Linked DNA regions of Homo sapiens: regions 2 and 3 are each linked to region 1. Evidence: promoter capture Hi-C in 16 types of primary human blood cells and fetal thymus (Javierre and others, 2016). All regions are on one chromosome and are shown on one strand. Each heading gives the region's core, a stretch centred on a gene start or on the middle of the fragment in contact. The rest is flanking DNA. Distances are from core to core; before and after follow the strand shown. Region 1 holds the start of TMEM150A (transmembrane protein 150A). Region 2 overlaps IMMT (inner membrane mitochondrial protein). Region 3 overlaps PTCD3 (pentatricopeptide repeat domain 3).

What was found. The method cuts DNA at HindIII sites, captures the fragments that hold promoters and counts their contacts. A CHiCAGO score of 5 or more calls a contact.
Region 2: a contact is called between a fragment that was not itself captured here and the fragment with the promoter of TMEM150A in region 1, in 1 of 17 cell types (monocytes). The highest score is 5.3, in monocytes.
Region 3: a fragment that was not itself captured here is called in contact with the fragment with the promoter of TMEM150A in region 1 in 2 of 17 cell types (neutrophils and monocytes); the score reaches 6.7 in neutrophils.

What each region holds. Positions count from the first base shown.
Region 1 is chr2:85,599,578-85,604,655 of GRCh38, forward strand. It overlaps TMEM150A (transmembrane protein 150A), which reads right to left and starts at 3,121. Exons shown (of 8, transcript NM_001031738.3): 1 at 3,030-3,121; 2 at 2,307-2,487; 3 at 1,858-1,905; 4 at 1,444-1,530; 5 at 768-835; 6 at 314-441; 7 at 1-125. The coding sequence starts at 2,371. It also overlaps a transcript of USP39 not described here. RefSeq lists silencers at 2,591-2,650, 2,751-3,330. The HindIII fragment of the contact is 3,378 bases long and covers 1,821-5,078 here.
Region 2 is chr2:86,145,006-86,150,083 of GRCh38, forward strand. IMMT (inner membrane mitochondrial protein) reads right to left here. Exons shown (of 15, transcript NM_006839.3): 13 at 2,697-2,828; 14 at 1,063-1,192. Among named protein-coding and RNA genes, the nearest start is that of SNORD94, 12 kb to the left of the region's middle. The HindIII fragment of the contact is 4,515 bases long and covers 1-4,221 here.
Region 3 is chr2:86,124,600-86,129,677 of GRCh38, forward strand. It overlaps PTCD3 (pentatricopeptide repeat domain 3), which reads left to right. Exons shown (of 24, transcript NM_017952.6): 10 at 396-483; 11 at 856-916; 12 at 1,196-1,281; 13 at 2,562-2,706; 14 at 3,342-3,392. Among named protein-coding and RNA genes, the nearest start is that of SNORD94, 8.7 kb to the right of the region's middle. The HindIII fragment of the contact is 9,969 bases long and covers 1-5,078 here.

The DNA of each region.
Region 1 (5,078 bases), core at 1,871-4,370:
ACAGCCAGGTCCAGCGGGGCGGTGGCCCCTTGGTAGGAGAGAGCACAGTGCAGGCAAACAAAGAGCAGCCCCGCAGGGAAGGCCACGCCAGCTCCAACGTAGTGCAGAGACCTGGCATGATCCACCTGGGCCCAGAGAAGGGCCAGTTGGTGATGTGGCCATGGCCCCACCTCTCCACCCCTCCTTCAATGAATCTCCTCTCTCCCTCTTCCTTCCTCTCCCTCTTTCCAGCCCCAACCTTGAGGTGCCACACTGCAGGCAGCCAGGCCTTGTTAGGTAAAGTTTAAGGTTTGCAGGGGAGAAGGGGAAGCACCTGAAAGTTGCCAACCACCAAGAGGCCCGCAGCGTTGGTGCAGCCTGTGATGAGTGCCGTGGTGTTAACCCAAGAGTGCCGACTCTGCTCCAGGAGCTGCCCGTAGCGCAGGAGGCAGATCAGGGCCACTGGGGGAGGAGAGCACAGTTGAGGCCTTCCTCCAGCCCTGGCCCTGCCCAGCGAGCCTGTCAGCTTCCCCCAGACGCTGTGGTGCTCCTGCCCCTTCTGAGGGGCAGAAAGGAACAGACAGGCGGGTGGTGAACTAGGTTTCCTCAGGCTCCAGCCAGCAGGGTGGCTGTGTGGGAGTCAGCTTTTGGCCTTCAAGGAAGGGGAGAAGCTGCCTCTATTGCCTTAGCCCTTGGTGGGGAGGGCTGCACAGAAGGGCTTCCTGGGCCTTTCTGTGTGGGGATCACTGGGCTGGGCACGCAGGGTCAGGGCTAAGGGTACAACTCACCCATGAAAGCACCCATGTTGCCAATGAGGCTGAAGAGGCAGCTTTCTGGGGGATAGGAGCCACACTTGCTGCGAGGAGGGGGAAGGACAGAGTAAGAGGGGTGCAGGAGGCCCGGGGGGCCCCCATTTTGGCTCACTGGCTCTCCCCTGCTTTACCTGCACCTGCTCCTTAGCAGGCAGGCCACTGATTTATGTGAAGATCCAGGGTCCCTCATGAACAACTGGTTCCAGGCTGGGCCCCCAAAGCAGAGCTCATGTGTGTGAGAGAGAAGGGAGTGCCCAGGAGTGTTCGGGCAACCCTGACACTCTTTGCTGAGCCCTGCGGCTGGTTTGGCTATCCTTGAGCCAGAACACGGGCTGGGCAATCTGAGGGCTCCAGCTTAAATCCAGGTGCCTCCGCTTATTAGCTGTGTGACCTGGATGAGGAAGACTGAGCCTGTTTCCTCACCTATAAAATGGTGAAAACAATACCTGCCTCACTCCTGGGAGGATGAAAAGAGACAATGCATATAAAGCACTCAGCAGAGTGCCTGCCCCACAGTAACTGTCAAGTAGTGTTGTTATTAAGTGGCTCTTAGGATACTTATTGTTCCTGAGACCCAAGGACAGCTCTTTGCTTGAGGGGCTGTCTGGGAGGCCCTTAGATCTCCCTGACCGGCCCAATGTCCAGGCCTTACCTGATGAGGGGGACATCGTCCAGGGTGCAGCAGGTCTTGGGACCCCCTTGCTCAGCAGGGTCAGGAGGGCAGGACTCGTTGTAGGACCTGGCAGGCAGGACAGGGAGTAGACTGGGGGAAGGGACTGCCCCCAGGCCCTTGGCCTATAGCCTCAGGCCTCAAAGAGGACTCTCTCCCAGACCTCCCCTACAGGGACAGAAGATCCCACTCCCCAGTGCCCGCCTGAAGCAGTAACCAAAGGGGCAAAGGGATAGTGGGAAGTGGGTAGGTGGCAAGAAGCCATGCCTGGGGACCAATTTCAGAGAAGAGCAGTGAGGCTCAGGGTTGCAGTCTGGCTCGTGGCAGCCTCAGGCCCAAGAGGGGACAGAGATGAAGGAAGCTTTAGAGCAAGGTTGTCTGCAGAGTCCTTCATACCAGTTCTCCACAGGGCATACATGGTGGTTCATCACAGCCATGGCATACCTGTGGGAACAGAACTGTCACCCTGGCAGCCTTCCCGAGCCCCACTCAACCCACCCCATGACCCTTCTCTTCAACCTTGATTTCTGGCCCCATTCAGCCTCATTATTGTTGCTGGGGACTCAAGTTGAGGTCCCTAAGGCTTGATGCCACACCAGCACCTGCAGCATGCCCCCAGCTACAGGCCCTCTGGAAATTGCCCTGGCTAGAAGTATATTTGTCAGGGCCACCCTGCTGGACAGCAGTGGTGCCAGCTTGTCCCAAGGGGCTGTGTGCCCAGGCACCAAGTCAGGCTTTTGAGACACCCAGAGTGACCCTGGGTACCACCGTGGCTATGACAGGACAAGAGACTTTGTGTGCGTCATCAAGCTCCTGTTGCCCCCCGGGCACCCCCCTTTACTCACACAGTCCATATGCCAGTGATGGAGAACGCTGACAGGCTGACAGGCAGGAGGATCCAGGCGGTCATGAGGGAGGGGAGCCAGGGTGGTGGTGGTGTTGGGGGGAGGACAAGAGGTAGATGGGGAAGTGGGGGCGGACCAGCTACCTTGAGATGTTTCTGCCACAACCATCAGCTGTCCTGGCCTGGTGGAGAGAGATCAAAGTCCAGGAGTGGGTAACTGGCCGGGAAGGGGGAGGGGAAGGGGGTCAACACCTTATCCAGCGCTCCCGTTGGGTCTCTGAGCGTCCAAAGTTTGGGCTGAGCCCACGGCAGAACGTGAACACCCTCTGGCACTGGGGGCCTCCGCGGTCAACCCAAATGCCACCGGCGTGCTGAGAGACGCAGGCGGACCGTAACATCTGGAAGGGAGTTACCCTCCTTCTGAGGGACCAGGGCTGGGAGAAGGGCTGGACAACCGAAGAGGCCACGCCAAGGAGAGGCTGGGTGCCGGCCCAGTGGAGCGGTGGCGAGTCGGCGGCGCGCAGGCAACCACCTGACCATCGGCGCCCTGGGCGAGGGGCGGGTTCACGCGGAAAGCCCAGCCCGGCCCGGCCCCCGCTCGCCTGGGCGCGGGGACCCCGGCTGGGGCCGGACCCTGCGGCCGGCGACCCCCCAGGACCCGGGACGCGAGAGTCCCCAGGTGATTCCTGGAAGCCCGGAGGAAGGGAAGGAGCCCAGTACGCACCTCCCCGGAGCGCCCCGCCGCCGCCGCACCCTGCTCGGCCCCCTCGTGGCGCCGACTCTAGCTGCGGCCCTCGGAGCAGCCCTGAAAGGTTTAAAGGGCCGAGCGGCCCCGCCCCTGGAGGCCCCAGGCCTCGCCGCGCCGCCCGCCGGGACGTGGAGTCCGCGCAGCCCCGGCCTCGGTGCCCGCGCCCTGCCCGAGACTACAACTCCCGAGCCCCCGCGCCCGCGTCACGGGGGAAACGTGGGCGGTGTCCCAACTTCGGAGGACCTGGGCGCGGAGGGCTGTGGCGTGAAGACCGCTCTAAAACCGAGATGACTAGAGGTTCCGTTTAACCGATTCCTGCCGGGGAAGCGTCAGCAGGTGGGGATCTCGGGGCAGCCTGCATTCCAGCTCTACCTGGGATTGTCGCCGTGCACATGGCTGGAGGAGCGTCTCTCCGCCACTGCGCACATTTTGCAGCCTGCACCGGCCAACGGTGAGTCCTCTAGGAAGCTCTCTCAACGTGGCGCCCCATGCCTGCCTCTGGCCAGGGCTGCGGTGGGTCCAGAGAAGCAGACACAAAGACTTGGCTGTTTCTTAAGAAATCCAAGCGCCTGGGATTTGGCTTATGGTTCCTGTGGCTCAGCAAACTCCGGAGGAGGGCTGCTTTCATTAGATACTTTTTGCTTTCCTGCATACAAGTACACAATGTACTAGCCAGAAATCAGTGTCCAAGACGTGTTTCCCGACTGATCAACACTTATTTGAAATAAGACGGCAGAGACCAGAGGACATCCATTCTAAATAGACACATGTAGGTGTCAGTGTAGAGTAGGTAAGGATTAACATGGCCAGTGTTGGTAAGCAAAGAGGGGAAGGTGAGAGACCCGGAGGAATCTGGGAAAAGGAAACAGGATAGTGTGGGAAAAATTACTGACCAGCTTCACCAAAAACTTACAGGCTATGAGTGCATTCCTGGATGTTTCTTTTTTTTTTACTTTTTCTTTTTCTTTTTTTTTTTTTTGAGACGGAGTCTCGCTCTGTCGCCCAGGCTGGAGTGCAGTGGCGCGATCTCGGCTCACTGTAAGCTCCGCCTCACGGGTTCACGCCATTCTCCTGCCTCAGCCTCCCGAGTAGCTGGGAACTACAGGCGCCCGCCACCTCACCCGGCTAATTTTTTTGTATTTTTAGTAGAGACGGGGTTTCACCATGTTAGCCAGGATGGTCTCGATCTCCTGACCTCGTGATCCGCCCGCCTCGGCCTCCCAAAGTGCTGGGATTACAGGCGTGGGCCACTGCGCCTGGCCCGGATGTTTCTTAAATTATTGCAAGGGTGGAAATACTTTCACATATCAGAAGTGTGCCTGGCATTCTGTCTCAAAGGCGGTCCCAGCATCTGTTGGAGCCCTTGTGAGATGACAGATCATCACCTGAATGGTGCACAGGCGCAGGTTGCCCAGCGTGGGGAGCTGAAGTTTGGCAACACTGGTGAGGCAAAGGCTATGTGAAACAACAGGGTCCTGTGCTTTAGAGAAGTAGAGCAGAATAAACTGCACAATGACTTGAAGAGGGAGAAACCTTCTTGGACCCAGTGGAAAGCAGAAATGGAAGCAGAAAACCTGTTGGAGAGCCCTTTTTCTTTTGAGACAGAGTTTCACTTGTTGCCCAGGCTGGAATGCAATGGTGCAATCTCGGCTCACTGTTACCTCTGCCTCCTGTGTTCAAGTGATTCTTGTGCCTCAGCCTCCCGAGTAGCTGGGATTACAGGTGCCTGCCACCATGCCCAGCTAATTTTTTTATATTTTTAGTAGAGACGGGGTTTCACCATGTTGGTCAGGCTGCTCTTGAACTCCTGACCTCAGGTGATCCGCTCGCCTTGGCCTCTCAAAGTGCTGGGATTACAGATGTGAACCACCGTGCCCAGCGGGAGAGCCCTGTCCTTAAACACATTAGGACAAGTAGTTAAAACAGGGCCAAGAAGTATGGCTGTGTAGTGATCACTGTACAAGCACACCTGGCTGAATAAACCAGTGGGGGATAAAATCCAGCTCACCTGCCGCTGGCTATGCT
Region 2 (5,078 bases), core at 714-3,213, 540 kb after region 1:
TTACAACCCCACCCCCACCACTTATTTCTGGTGTATTTTCCTAGCTGGCCTCTTCATATCAAAGTCAGAAGTCATTCACATCTGCATGATATCTAATCCACATATTTTTACCTTTACTAGTTGAGAAAGAAACATATTATTTAAATTAGGCTAAGACTTAACGCTAAGGCCATGAGAAATTTTCTGCAAAGAAATGGGAGACTTCAGGGCCAGGCACAATGGCTCATGCCTGTAATCCCAGCAATTTGGGAGGCCGAGGTGGGTGGATCACTTGTGGTCAGGAGTTCAGGACTAGCCTGGCCAACATGGTGAAACCCTGTGTCTACTAAAAATACAAAACCTAGCCAGGCGTGGTGGCACGCACCTGTATTCCCAGCTACTCAGGAGTCTGAGGCAGGAGAATCGCTTGAACCCAGGAGGCGGAGGCTGCAGTGAGTCGATATCACACCACTGCACTCTACCCTGGGCGACAGAGCAAGACTCTGTCTCAAAAAAAAAAAAAAAAAAAAAAAAGAAATGGGAGACTTCAAACGAACTTAACAGACTACTGGATCTTGAAATTCCATGAGTATTGAATTTATTTTTATTGTTATGTGACAAAAAAAGATTCCATAACATCCTAAAAAAACCCATTTTATTAATACCCTCATTGTCATGACATTTCTCTTTCAATGTGGCACATGGAGGCCTCAGCATAAATACTGTCCATTTGGTAGTTGGACTCGGCAAATCACCACCTCCAGATAACCCACCAAGTCTGTGGAAGGCAAGCATGGGACCACACTGACCCCTAGCCCTTACCACCCAGGCACATGCGACATAGCCAAAGGATACTGGGTAAATAGCCTTGTAAATGGTGATTTTGTGTTTGTCATACAAGGTATAAATTTCTAGTTATATAGATTTTGCCATTACTTTTAATGGCAAAAACTGCAATTAAGTAGAGTGATTAGTATTTTTATGTCCTGATGTCAGTACATGTACCCCATTTTCCCTATAAAATTATTTTGATAAATTATGCTGAGGAAAATTATCTGTAAGATAAACATAGCTTATGCTTACTCTGAACAGCCTGTTCGATTCCTCTGAGTCTGGCATAGGCAGTATTTATATCCAGAGTAAAGTTGTCAACTTGCTCTTGACTGAGACGACGAAATTGTAATTCTTGTTCAGAGAGTTTCTCAGACAGGTTCTGAAATAAAACAGAAATAGTTCCAGAAAAAAGTGATACTCAATGCATGTCATGTAACTGTGTAATCTTCCAGCAACTACTTGCTGAAGCAAAGAGGGCCTTAGAGTTGTCACGAAATTCCTACATTTTGTGTAAAGTTTCAAAAATGTCCTGACTCATATTTGATGTATATAATATATTTTTTTTTTTTTTGAGATGGAATCTTGCTTTATTGCCAGGTTGGAGTGCAGTGGCACAATCTTGGCTCACTGCAACCTCCGCCTCCCAGATTCAAGTGATTCTCCTGCCTCAGCCTCCCAAGTAGCTGGGATTACAGGCATGCATCACCATGCCAATTATTGTATTTTTAGTAGAGATGGGTTTCACCATGTTGGCCAGGATGGTCTCGATCTCTTAACCTCGTGATCCGCCCACCTCGGCCTCCCAAAGTGCTGGGATTACAGGCGTGAGCCACCGTGCCCGGCCGATGTATATAATTCTTTACAGGTTTACTGATGGAACCTAATATTAGAGGAGGCATACCAAGAGAAGAGAGAAGGCTGTTAAAGTCAGAAACAAACTGCCAACTGTATTTTATTTTTGAGACAGAATCTTGCTCTGTCATCCAGGCTGGAGTGCAGTGGCACAACCTCAGCTCACTGCAACCTCCACCTCCCAGATTCAAACGATTCTCATGCCTCAGCCTCCGGAGTGGCTGGGATTACATGCATGCACCACCATGCCCAGGTAATTTTTGTATTTTTAATAGAGACAGGGTTTCGCCATGTTGGGCAGGCTGGTCTTGAACTCTTGTCCTCAAGCGATCCACCCGCCTCAGCCTCCCAAATTGCTGGGATTATAGGTGTTAGCCACTGTGCTCAGCCACAAATTGTCAGCTTTAGAAAGTAAATTATCTGTACTGCAAACCTAAACATAATAATTAGATTAAATTATATTCTAATATCTTGTATTTAAGAGCTTATACATTAATTTTTCTCAGAAAAATATCCAAATAGAATTTAAAATACCTTTTCATACTGACATACATCGCGATTCTCTGGAAGATTTTACTTAGAAAACCTCAATATCTTCTTGCAAGACAAAGTAACAAGTTAATATTACTGTAAATGATTTCTTGAATAGAAACTATGATTACAGGCATCCTGATAATTTACTGGGATTTCAAAACTTCTCTGGGAAATTACCTCAGTTATAAAAATCTAAGCAGTACCATGCCATCTATAGGAGGAAGATACACATGTCAAATATTACTGTCTGCATTCCTGAAATCCCCTTTACCAACTCTCCTTAAAGCTCTGAAGATTCCAAATGACTAGAATATATATTTTAAAAACACATCTGATCATGAACACACAGGTACACCATTATGTAAAAAGAAGCAGTTTTGTAGACATACAAGGAGATTTCCAAATCTTCGACATCCTCAGAGTACATTAAAAGGAAAGGAGAGTCTCTTAATCCTGTCAGGAAGAGGGGTGTGGCTGAAGGGAGTCCAGGTCCTCACCTGCTCAAATTCAGACTTCAATTCCTGTTCTTGTACCCTAAGGACATCTCGCAAGTGATCAGTGTGGGCAGCTGCCTGTCGGCGAAGCTGGGTTCTCATTTCATTTTCCATGGCATCTCTGACTTCTTCTATCTGTGAAACCAAACATAGTAGTTATTAGTTTTCAATTCTCCACATATACTTTTAGGAAAACAGAAAGACCACTATCAACCATGACAACAGCAGCTTCCATATCCTGAACGCCTCTAATGTGCCAGGCATGTGTACACTTCTACTTCTCATGTGAAACGGAAAACTAAACCCTGGAAGGTGATTCAAACAAGATCACACAGCTGTGGCAAAAACCAGATTTCAAACAAAGGTCTCTCTCACCCCCAAACTTGTGGTTTTTCCACATCACCAGGCTGCCTCTCATATAAAACACTGCCATTTCCTGAATCACATGCTCCTCTGAGAAATAACTAAATCCAGGATATGAAAAAAAGTAACTATATACTTGGAATCAAGCGTAGCTTTACTACAACCATCTGTGTGACCTTGGGGAAATGATTTATCTTCTCAAATCTCCACTTTCTCATTTGTGAGTAATAATGCCTACTTTGAAGAATCATTAAGAAAATTAGTTGGCCGGGCGTGGTGGCTCACACCTGTAATCCCAGCACTTTGGGAGGCTGAGGCAGGTGGCTCATGAGGTCAGGAGATTGAGACTATCCTGACTAAAATGGTGAAACCCCATCTCTACTAAAAATACAAAAAAAAAATTAGCCGGGTGTGGTGGCGGGTGCCTGTAGTCCCAGCTACTCGGGAGGCTGAGGCAGGAGAATGGCGTGAACCGAGGAGGCAGAGCTTGCCGTGAGCCAAGATTGCGCTGCTGCACTCCAGCCTGGGCGACAGAGCAAGACTCCATCTCAAAAAGAAAAAAGAAAAGAAAATTAGTAAGTATCTGGTAGTTATTGACATAGACTTGACATAGACTTCTAAACAAAGAAAACTGCTTATTTTTAAATGAATTTAAATTCAACATGGGCCAAAAAAAACCAAAAAATATACCTTGCCTAACAAATAGCCATAGGTCACTTTACAAATTACTTAACACTGATTACCTGAAATCCAGAACTTATTTTTTCTCAGAAACAATATAATAAATCAATGAATCCATTCAGTCAGTGCATAAGTATTTATGAAGTGCTACTAGCCCTGTGTGCCAGGCAGTGCCTACTATCTGTACGGATCCAATGGTGCTTAGGGCAGACGAACTTCTTGCTCTCACAGTGTATATCTCAATGGAGGCAGCAGACAGTAAACAAAAAAGACATCTGAGATTGTGATACATATTTCTACATATGACTGAGCAGGCAAGGACCTGTTGTGAAGCATCAACACCCCTTCAACCTCCTTTTCCCCCACCTTACATTTAAAATAAACAGGGCAACATAACAGAAAGTAATACAGAGACTCTACTTTGGACTGAAGGGATAGGAAATCTCAGTCTTGCTAACAAAGTGACATCTAGGCTTAAAACTTAAGCTTAGAGCTCAAGGTTTAAACAGAGAGGATAGAACAATGTACTAGGCAGAGAAAACATAAAGGTCCCAAGACAAAAGATATAGTCAAGGTACAGACAAAAAATACCAGGGTGCCTGGAGCAGTGAAATGGCTCATGGCATGCAGTGATCAAGAAGCCTTTTGGGTACTGGTTAAGAATTTGGAATTATATTAAATGAAATGGGTAGTCCATGGAGGATTTCCAGCAGTGTAGTGTCTGATTCGACTATGTTTTATTTGCCTGCGTAAATAGACACAGAAAGAAGGGTATGAAGAAAGGGCAAATTGGCTGGGCATGGTGGCTCACACCTGTAATCCCAGCACTTTGGTGTTTAAATTCCTTGGGGAAGGCCGGGCATGGTACCTCATGCCTGTAATTCTGGCGCCGTGGGAGGCCAAGGCAGGTGGATCACTTGAGGTCAGGAGTTCGAGACCAGCCTGGCCAACATGGCAAAACCCCGTCTCTACTAAAAATACAAAAATTAGCCACATGTGGTGGCATGCACCTGTAAGTCTAGCTACTCAGGAGGCTGAGAGGCACAAGAATCACTTGAACCTGGGAGGCAGAGGTTGCAATGAGCCAAGATTGCACTACTGCACTCTACCCTGGGCCACAAAGACAGACTCTGTCTCAAAAAAAAAAAAAAAAAAAGAAAGAAAAAGAAAAAATAGTGGAAGCTGTTAAGATGACAGCTTGGGCTAAGGTGGTAGTAATGGAGTGGACAGATTTGGGATTTATGTTGGATGCAAAACTGGTAGGATCTGTGGGGCAACTGAATATGAGTTGATGGAGGAACAACAAAGCATGATTTGGGCTGGAATAGCTGAGCAGATTGT
Region 3 (5,078 bases), core at 766-3,265, 520 kb after region 1:
AATATGACCAGAAGGATCCAAAAGAAACCGTTTTGCCTCTGGGAAGTAGTATCTGAAGATTGAAGAAAGGTGAGGAAACTTTACTAGGGACTTTGTCATACAGTTGCTTCTTGTTTTTAATAGCACAGATATTTATATACTTGTTTATAAACTTTTCATTTTCAATTGTAATTCTGCCACTTAACCTGCGAAGCCCTGACAACACATTAAGATCGTTAAGTCTTGATTTTCCCCATTTTCAAAATGATAATAACCATAATACCCTGTAAGAATTGAGATAATGTATAGAAAGTACTTGGCACATTGCCTAGAACATAATAAACCGTCAGTAAATGGTGGTAGCTCTCATTGGTATTTCTTATTGCCTGGGTTCACATTTACTCTCTTGTGTCTAGAGCAAAAAACAACGCTGAGAGAATCTTTTCTCTAATGCCAGAGAAAAATGAACATTCCTATTGCACAATGATCCGAGGAATGGTGAAGGTACATTTGTTTTATTTATTTTTGTCTTTCATTTCCACCGATCAGGGTGTTTCAGCCTCAGAACTACTAACATTTTGGGTCAGGTAATTTGTTGTGGGGTCTGTCCTGTGCATTGTAGGATGTTAGTAGCTCCCTGGCTTCTACCCACTGGATGTGAGTAGTGTACTCCTCCCCCACTTTCAGTTGTGACAAATAAAAATATGTTTAGGCATTACCAGTGGATAGAAAATCCCACTGCACTAGAGTATGAGCTTCATGAGAACAGGAGCCTGATCTATTGAGCCTGAGCTATATTACCAAACTCTAGGACAGAAATGTGCAAGGACTTCTTAAGTAAATGAATTTGATGATGCTTAATTTTTCCTTTTCCAGCACCGAGCTTATGAGCAGGCATTAAACTTGTACACTGAGTTACTAAACAACAGACTCCATGGTGAGTTTGAGAACTCCCCTCTGTCCCTTTCTCCATTTCCTTCTTTTAATTGTCTGTGTGAAGGCTTTGGATCGTGCCTCAGTCATTGGCCTACACTTTACCTTTTCCTGAGGCGTAGATGATTGAAGCAAGAGTAGAGATCCAGAGAGGAGAGTAGTTTTCCAGTTTTGTGGACATGTGATTAGTCAAGGGACACATAGGAATGACTGCTTTGCCTTAAACTCAGCCATTTAGGGATTAATCTTCAACCCCAAATTTTATCATTTTATTATTTTACAGCTGATGTATACACATTTAATGCATTGATTGAAGCAACAGTATGTGCGATAAATGAGAAATTTGAGGAAAAATGGAGTAAAATACTGGTAAGGAGGAATCCTCAGTTTATTTTTTAATAGGGCTTAAATACTCTTTACCAGAAATACATGGGCTGGCCAGGTGTGGTGGCTCAAACCTGTAATACCAGCACTTTGGGAGGCCGAGGCGGGCAGATCACCTGAGGCCAGGAGTTGGAGACCAGCCTGGCCAACATGGTGAAACCCGTCTCTACTAAAAGTACAAACAATTAGCTGGGCGTGGTGGTGCACGCCTGTAATCCCAGCTACTTGGGAAGCTGAGGCAAGAGAATCTATTGAACCCGGGAGGCGGAGGTTGCTGTGAGCAGAGATCGCACCACTGCACTCCAGCCTGGGCAACAGAGCAAGACTCCGTCTCAAAAAAAAAAAAAAGAAAAAGAAACAGAAGTACATGGGCTGGAGACAGCATTTATGAGCATGTGTATGGCAGTCACTGTGTAGCAGTTACCTGTTCACTACCCTTTCCGCAGCCCTGGGACTCAGCTGTGTCTGGCACATAAGAAGAAAAAGTTGCTTGACCGAGAGTATAGAGCTAGAATTCTGGACCATTTTATTCATTTATTTTTCATAATAGTTTTTCTGTTACAAAGTAATGCATATTTGCTGTCAAATCCTATCAGGTGTAATTTCAAAAAGTTGAAATCACTGGATTGATTCTCGCCTAGTAACTTAAGAATAGAAACGGCTGGGCACGGTGGCTCATGCCTATAATCCCAGCACTTTGAGGCTGAGGCGGGTGGATTACCTTAGGTCAGGAGTTTGTGACCAGCCTGACTAACATGGTGAAACCCCGTCTCTACTACAAAAATACAAAAATTAGCCGGGCATAGTGGTGCTCGCCTGTAGTCGCAGCTACTCAGGAGGCTGAGGCAGGAGAATCACCTCAGCCCACGAGGCAGAGGTTGCAGTGAGCCAAGATCGCACCACTGCACTCCAGCCTGGGCAAGAAGAGCGAAACTTTGTCTCAAAAAAAAAAAAAAACCAACCACTTTTTTATATCATACTAGTCTATTATTTTTGCGTCTTTTCTTGGAAAACTCTCCTAGGTAGAAGACTGAAGACAGTTGACCACCTCTATCAAGTGGGGTGGGTGTTTGAATTAGCAGGCTTCTTTAAAAGGCAGAATCATGGAACCTGCTAATTAATAAACAGTTCTTAAAAGAGGGATATAGTTACTAACCTGCTTTAAACATAAGCAAGAAAGCTAAATTCTTTACTTTGTATGAAACATAGATTATTGGACAGATTACCCAGGCATGAAAGATACTTCTTGTTTTTTATTCACCTAGGAGCTGCTAAGACACATGGTTGCACAGAAGGTGAAACCAAATCTTCAGACTTTTAATACCATTCTGAAATGTCTCCGAAGATTTCATGTGTTTGCAAGATCGCCAGCCTTACAGGTTTTACGTGAAATGAAAGCCATTGGAATAGGTGAGGATGCGCCCTTGAGTTCTCTGAGGACAGAGACTGTGCCAGCCAGAGGTTTCAGGGCTACATAAGCAAAGAGCTTTAAATTATTCTTGTGCTTACATAATATGTTGGAAATTTTCTTTCCATGTTTGGCACATTTACTTACATGTACTTATTATAGTGGGAGTGCCTTTATCATCTTAGTGTTCATTAGTATTTTAGGTACTTTGTTTATGGATCTGTTGAATCTGAGGAGAAGTGATTGCTTTGAGTTAGCTAGTTTTAAATTCATGACATTTTCCCAACATAATTAGGTATTTGAACCTAAGTGTGTGCTAGTGTATTGTATATTTTTCATTAATTACTTTATTGAAAGTTGCTTTGGGAATCAATTCACTTCAATATATTTTACTGTTCTCAGTGAAGAATGTGACTAATAAGTATTTGGACTTTCAAAAAGTGATACAGTCTTTGTGATAGTTTTTTACCTTTACATTAATGAGTTGGAAAATAACTTTGTTCAAAGGAATAGAAATGCATATTTTGCTTAAATATTAACAATATGTTTTTAATTCAGTGTGTCTCAGTAAACTATGTTTTGGATTGCTGTGTTTTTACCTCATTGTTTATTTTTTCTGTCTACCTGGTAATTTGAGAACCCTCGCTTGCAACATATCACCATATTATTCGCCTGTTTGATCAACCTGGTATGTATGGCCTTAAATTGTGTTAATTTATATAGAAAATTGACCAGCTTTCTTGAGTTTATGTGATTAATTGTTGTAGTTATCTTCTCTGCATATGAATTAAGAAGAGAGAATTTGTAAATTAACCTGTACAGCCTGAGCAGAAAGTTGTGGTTTTTTTAGATACAGGATCTTGCCCATTGCAGCCTTGAACTCCTGGGCTCAAACAGTCCTCCCTCCTCAGCCTCCTGAGTAGTTAGGATTACAGATGCCCACCAGCATGCCTAGCTGATTTTTTTTTTTTTTTTTTGGACAGGGTCTTACTACCTAAAATTATTCTTGAGGGTAGCAATCTTGTTTGTGGTCTAAAACTTGAGCTGGAGGGGAGAGGGTTATGGATTGTACTGGCAGTGATGTTGTACAAACAGGAATTGGGTAGAATATATTTTGGTTGAAATTCCTTTTGTTCTCTGGAGCTGTGCTATTTAACACCATAGCCACTAGCCACATGTGGCCAGTTAATTAAAATTAAGTAAAATAATAAATTATTTTGTCACATTGGTGCTCAGTAGCCATGTGTCTAGTGGCTACCATGTGTCGTGATGCAGATTCAGAACATTTCCATCTTTGCCAAAAGTTTGTGGACGTTTCTGCTCCAGAGGAAAGGTAAACTTATTGTGAAGCGTTTTGGGAGGACCTCAAGGCTCCATGCGTTGTCCACTTTTAGGTCAGTTCCAGTGGGAGCTCTGCTCTGTAGTAGATGGACTTTGAAGAGAGACACACCTGAGCTGAGATGTCCACTCTACCATTTATTTACCAGCTATGTCAAAGCGACTAGATACCTACCTGAGGAATAGCAGCAGGGTGTGGTAGTTAAATGAGTTCCACACTGTGTCTGCTACTGTGCTTGGAGGGCACATATGAGGCACTCAAAATCTTTTGGTTCTTGTCCATTATCCCCAGCCTGAGAAATAACCCTTGAGTTCAGAATTGACAGTTCTAGTCATTCTTTCTTGTGGATAGACTATAAAAATTACAGAAGGGAAGTTGTTTCTCTCTGGTTTGGAGGACTAATTTTGTAAAATCCATATCCTCACCTGTATAGGCAAATTTTATCTTTAGGAAAAGGAACCAGTTAATTGACTATACCTTGGAAACAGGTAAACAGTTTCCATAATTGTGTCCCCTAAAATTTTACTCAACCTTGGTGAGATTGTGATGGAGCTAGTATTTCTGACTCCAAAGTATATTCCTTTCCTCTGTAACTCTCATCACTGGTTCAATTGCTAATCAAAGTCAGATGTACTTACATTTCCTAAGTAACAGCCAGGACTGGGGGATGGGGGTTCTGGGGGAGCTGTGTTGGTTTGTCTTATGTATATAAATTTGCCTGTCTGCAGCAGTAGTTTTGGCTTACGCCTGTAATCCCAGCAATTTAGGAAGCCAAGGCAGGAGGATTGCTTGAGCCCAGGAGTTTGAAACCAACATAGAGAGACCTCCATGTCTACTAAACATGAAAAAAGTAGCTGGGCATGGTGGCGCACCCCTGTAGTCCCAGCTACTCAGGAGTGTGAGGCAGGAGGATTGCTTGTGGCCAGGAGGTTGAAGCTGCAGTAAGCTGCGTTTGCCCCACTGCACTCCAGCCTAGGTGACAGAGCAAGACCCTGTCTCAATAGTAATAATAATTTCTAGGAATTTACCCAAAAG